Regions from separate parts of the Homo sapiens genome. Here region 1 is linked to region 2. Evidence: promoter capture Hi-C in 16 types of primary human blood cells and fetal thymus (Javierre and others, 2016). All regions are on one chromosome and are shown on one strand. Each heading gives the region's core, a stretch centred on a gene start or on the middle of the fragment in contact. The rest is flanking DNA. Distances are from core to core; before and after follow the strand shown. Region 1 overlaps GALK2 (galactokinase 2). Region 2 holds the start of SLC27A2 (solute carrier family 27 member 2).

Evidence for each region. The method cuts DNA at HindIII sites, captures the fragments that hold promoters and counts their contacts. A CHiCAGO score of 5 or more calls a contact.
Region 1: a contact is called between a fragment that was not itself captured here and the fragment with the promoter of SLC27A2 in region 2, in 3 of 17 cell types (megakaryocytes, monocytes and erythroblasts). The highest score is 11.3, in megakaryocytes.

Annotation. Positions count from the first base shown.
Region 1 is chr15:49,236,490-49,239,189 of GRCh38, forward strand. All of the region lies in intron 4 of GALK2 (galactokinase 2), which reads left to right. Among named protein-coding and RNA genes, the nearest start is that of GALK2, 68 kb to the left of the region's middle. The HindIII fragment of the contact is 2,742 bases long and covers 1-2,668 here.
Region 2 is chr15:50,180,839-50,183,538 of GRCh38, forward strand. SLC27A2 (solute carrier family 27 member 2) reads left to right here and starts at 1,358. Exons shown (of 10, transcript NM_003645.4): 1 at 1,358-2,067. The coding sequence starts at 1,590. It also overlaps a transcript of ATP8B4 not described here. RefSeq lists silencers at 1,250-1,589, 1,860-1,959. The HindIII fragment of the contact is 4,085 bases long and covers 692-2,700 here.

The sequences.
Region 1 (2,700 bases), core at 48-2,547, 940 kb before region 2:
TAATGAAATGTATTAGTATAAGTATTTTCCAAGAAACATTGAATAATTACTTTGAAAATCTCTAATGTTACATACAAGAACAAGAAAATAAAATGTTTTCACTCTCATAATTGAAAAAGTATCAAGGACCAAAAGAAAATTGATATTTGCTGTTTTTAGAGCCACTTTTATATTGCAATAATTATTTTAGATGTAGTGACTTGCATAGAATCATAGTAGGACAATAAGAAGTAAATTTTGCCTTTGTGAGCTAAAAGTAAACAAACAAACTGACCCATGTTTTAGAGAGCTTGTGTTCCTTACTGCCTGGCAGTCCTATCTGAAACTTTGTAATGAGCAGCTAGGACTTAGTGGCACATCCATTACAGAAATACATCAAATTTATTTCTAATGTGTAGTCCTATACTGTAACAGTGGTGGTTTTTGTTCTTAAAGTTAATGAATTCATTTCTTTCTTTCTTTTGTGTTTTCCTTTCTCTCAGACACATGGTAATAACTTACAGGAAAAGTTATTGGCAGGTTTTAAATCTTCAAATCATCTGGCTTATCATATGCATTAGTGGGAATTACAGTATTTGGAAGCATTTGCCTGGCAAATGCAATTTTAATCTTCCTTGTAACAACATGCCTTTTTGCAGCATATGGGTAAAGTGGCCTAAATAATGCATGTTGCTTTGTGTTATTTTTGAGCATTTCAGGTTTTAAAGCCTTCCTGTTTGGTTTGACAATTTATGTGCAAAAGCAAACTTATACAATGAACTTTTGGCAGAAAGGTAATTTAAATGCTAGCCTGTTCAGAAACTTTCAAATTCAAATACTAGAAAGTTTCAGAGAATAATTCACTTATATTACATTGAACATGTTATCCTTTTGGCATAGAGCTATTACAGAATGTGGCATATACCCATTTGCATTTTGAATTTGTTATACATTTTCATTTAAACATTGCATAATACGTTGTTTTTTGTTTTTGTTTTTTTGTTTTTGTTTTTGTTTTTGTTTTTTGAGACGGAGTCTTGCTCTGTCGCCCAGGCTGGAGTGTAGTGGCGTGATCTCGGCTCACTGCAACCTCTGCCCCCGGGGTTCAAGCGATTCTCCTGCCTCACCCTCCTTAGTAGCTGGGATTACAGGTGCCTGCCACCGCGCCTGGCTAATTTTTGTATTTTTAGTAGAGACGGGGTTTCACTATATTGGCCAGGCTGGTCTTGAACTCCTGACTTCGTGACCCACCCGCCTCGGCCTCCCAAAGTGCTGGGATTGCAGGTGTGAGCCACTGCGCCCGGCTGATAAGTTCTTAAGTGTGATTCCCACTCAAGACACCTGTGTTTGATCAGTTTATATTAAATATATTGTATTCTTCAATTTTTTTTTTTAAACAAGCTGTCTGATATTCTGTATGAAAGGGCATTGGCAACAGTAGAGTTTCAGTTTATAGTTTGTTTGTATATCTGGAAGGAAATTTTTAGATGACTTGAAATCAGGAAGAGAAGTACACCCAGCTAAATTTCTTCTTATTGTGGTGCGAGAATTTTGCTAGCTAGGACAGACAGACAAAAAATTAAGGAAAAAGGTCTTTTATTTGCAGAATTTTGTTGTTATTTTAGTTATTCTAGCTAGCTGATTGAAATTCTCCCTTGTATAATAGGTATGATGAAATGCATAATTAGGTAATAGTATTTCATATGTTAATCTTCAGTCATTTGAGTAATTTGCAAAGACTATGGTACTTTTTCTTGAGAAGGAGGTAGACTTGAATTTATTTGTAAACTTAAACCACAAAGGTTATGATATGATATCATCCAAAGTGTCCTAGTGTTAGAAAGTAATGTAAGTATACTAGAGCTTTCCATATTTAAATCAGAATCTGATTATTTCTTTGGGCTTTCCTATTTGTAGAAATAGAGTTTCCTCAACTTGTTTAGGGTCTGTATTCTCATTTGTGGCTGAATTCTAATTTGACTATCTTTAAAGCTACCATATGGCTAAACTGTATCTATAAACTGTAGTAAGCATCTGGATTTTCTCATGTAGCTGGCATATTAAATCACAATGACGGTTTGCTGGCTCAGGTTTCTAACTGCAGTGGAAAAGTTTTCAAACAGGATTCAGAGACCTGGGCCCTACTCTCGTCTCCCTATGTGTCATCTTGGGAAAGTTTCTTCATCTCTTGGTGCCTAGGTTTTTTCATAAGTAAAACAGAACTGAGAATGTTTGGAACTCCTTTTTTTCAGAGAACCTTCTAAAGTAAGGCACTCCTTAGAAACAAGTCACTGCTTGGGGGCTGGACTTTTATAATAACAGAATGCTGGAGTTGTGCTGCATGGAGATTTAAATTACCTCACAGATAATTGTATATTTCTTGTCCTGCTACTTGACAAATTGGATTATAATTGTTTTATATTTTTTCCATATTTGTTCAAATCAATTAATACTCAAGAAAAAGAACATTCAAGGCAATTTTATATTTTTTCCATATTCAAATCAATTAATATTCAAGAAAAAGAACATTCAAGGCAAGAAAATTAAAGGCATTTAAGGGAATTACTCTGTGGCTAAGAGTCATTAAATAAAATGTCACATATAGTCTCAACTAAATTGAATTGCATAAGTAGTTTCTATAACTATTATAAGTCTATTGATAGACTTTTGTTCTCTGGGGAATGAAAGAAGCTTTCACTACTCCTTGAATTCAATACTGAA
Region 2 (2,700 bases), core at 108-2,607:
GGATACGAAAAGGAGGCTAAAAAACGGCAGGGGGTGGCCTGGAGGGAATGTGAAACATTTTTGTGTGTTTTACACACACCGAAAAAAAAAGAGGACATGGACAGAAACCTAGAGAATAGGAGGACAGCATAGTATAGTTACTAAGAATAAGCTAAGAGTTGGTTCCCCGGGACCAAACAGATACCATTTCCAAAACCCACGAATTACTTACCGGCTGTCTCAATTCACCTAAGCTTCCCTTTCTTGTCTGTAAATGAGCATGAAAGTGCCACCTGTATAAAATAACTCAGGCTCCCAAAATGTAACATAGGGAAGCTCCTAGCAGCGTGTCTGGGAGGAATAAGCATTATCTGTATTTATCGTATCAAATTAAGATAGAGGAACACAGGAGGACAGTAGAGGATGAAAATAAAACACTACTTAGATCCTGACCCTCCTCAGTGGCAAGTAGTGAGCATTCACTTCGTACAGAAGTAGCACTAAGGCAAATTAAAAGAAAGGTTCACATTTCCTCTAAAAGAAATGGTTTTTGAGTCATGCCAATACCACTTACTCAATGTCCTCTGTACTATACTATTCTCTGACAGAGCCACTTATTAAATGTGTGAACTGTGCTGACAACACTTGACAACTTTCAACATGAGGGAACAGCAGGATCACTTAACAGAACAAAATCGTAAAATAATGTCAAAGCTTGATTTCAGGTGGTGCGGTGTAGCACTGCTCTTCACGAAATCAGGACTCCCCCGACCAGGCAGGGCCGACTAGGTTAGAGTGTCCTGCCCTCACTCACCTGGCAGGGCTTGGGATGAGCTGGACGTGACTGCCACAGGCATTTCTGTTCAACCTTGAAGCCTTCGCTACAGGAGACCGCCTGGCAGTCGGGCTGGGAAGCAAATCTGAGAAACAAAGAGAGACCAGGCGGAAAGCCCTTGGGACCAGGAAGGAGAGATGAGATTCTGGTTTGGCAGTGGCACCTGGTACCCGCTATTAATAAATAATAGGACTGTCTGACATTTATAAGGCACTTTATCGGTAATAACAGTGTCATCTCCATAAGCCATTCTATTAGTGGTAACAAATAATAGCCCCACGCCTGCAATATCTCCTTTAATATTCCCAACGTCCGCTAAGCGCGTCTCATCACCATTTAAAGAAACCGTGGCTCCTAGAGGTAAAGTACTTCGGTCACAACGCGAGGAGGTCCAGACTTGACCCCAGACCTCCAGACTCGAGCTGGGAAGTGGCCGAGGCTCCTGGTGAGCCGCAGGGCAGCCTGCCCAGCCCCGGGAGGACCGCGTGGGAGGGCCGGGAGAGCAGGTGGCTGCCCCCCACAAGGGGGCGGGCTCAGCCGGCCAGTCCTGCCCGGAACCCCCGGCAACGCGCATACGACTACACCTGCTCCGGAGCCCGCGGCGGTACCTGCAGCGGAGGAGCTCTGTCTTCCCCTTCATCTCACGCGAGCCCGGCGTCCCGCCGCGTGCGCCCCGGCGCAGCCCGCCAGTCCGCCCGGAGCCCGCCCAGTCGCCGCGCTGCACGCCCGGGGTGAACCCTCTGCCCTCGCTGGGACAGAGGGCCCCGCAGCCGTCATGCTTTCCGCCATCTACACAGTCCTGGCGGGACTGCTGTTCCTGCCGCTCCTGGTGAACCTCTGCTGCCCATACTTCTTCCAGGACATAGGCTACTTCTTGAAGGTGGCCGCCGTGGGCCGGAGGGTGCGCAGCTACGGGAAGCGGCGGCCGGCGCGCACCATCCTGCGGGCGTTCCTGGAGAAAGCGCGCCAGACGCCACACAAGCCTTTTCTGCTCTTCCGCGACGAGACTCTCACCTACGCGCAGGTGGACCGGCGCAGCAATCAAGTGGCCCGGGCGCTGCACGACCACCTCGGCCTGCGCCAGGGAGACTGCGTGGCGCTCCTTATGGGTAACGAGCCGGCCTACGTGTGGCTGTGGCTGGGGCTGGTGAAGCTGGGCTGTGCCATGGCGTGCCTCAATTACAACATCCGCGCGAAGTCCCTGCTGCACTGCTTCCAGTGCTGCGGGGCGAAGGTGCTGCTGGTGTCGCCAGGTGAGCCCCGAGGATCGCCCTGCCCTGGCACCAGGGCTTCTCGGCGCCTTGACTGACGAGCCACAGCGTGGCATAAGGGGTTCGCAGAGGGAGGTTCAGATCGGAACTGTAGGTATAGAAAAAGGTTGGCAGTGTTTCCTTGAATCGCAAATAATGATCTTTTAGGACCACCTGTTGTGGAAGCTGATAATGTGCTAGGTTCTGTGTTAAGCACTCTACAGGCAGTGTGGTTTTTAATCCTCACAATGGGTAGGCTTTGTTATAGGACTTTTATAGATGAGACCACTGAGGTCCTGAGAGGTGAAGCCTCATGCCCAGCCATCTATCTCCAAATTCCAAGCTCTTAATCAATACTTATAACATCTGCATTAAAATGCAGAGGATCTTGAGTGCGAACTCTAGTGGATCCAGAGGGGCTCTTCTCACCTCTGCTGCTTGACTGGCTGTGTGATCATGGGAAAGTCACTTCTCCTCTCTGTCCCTTGGTTTGCTCCTCTCTAATGAGGCAGGCTTCAATGTTGCTTCCAGCTCTCAACTGCTGTTAGCATCCTGTCCCCTCCCTGCAGAACAAAGGTGACCCCACCTGATCCCCAGGGAGAAGATACTGGGGATCTGCTACAGGACCGTTGTGAG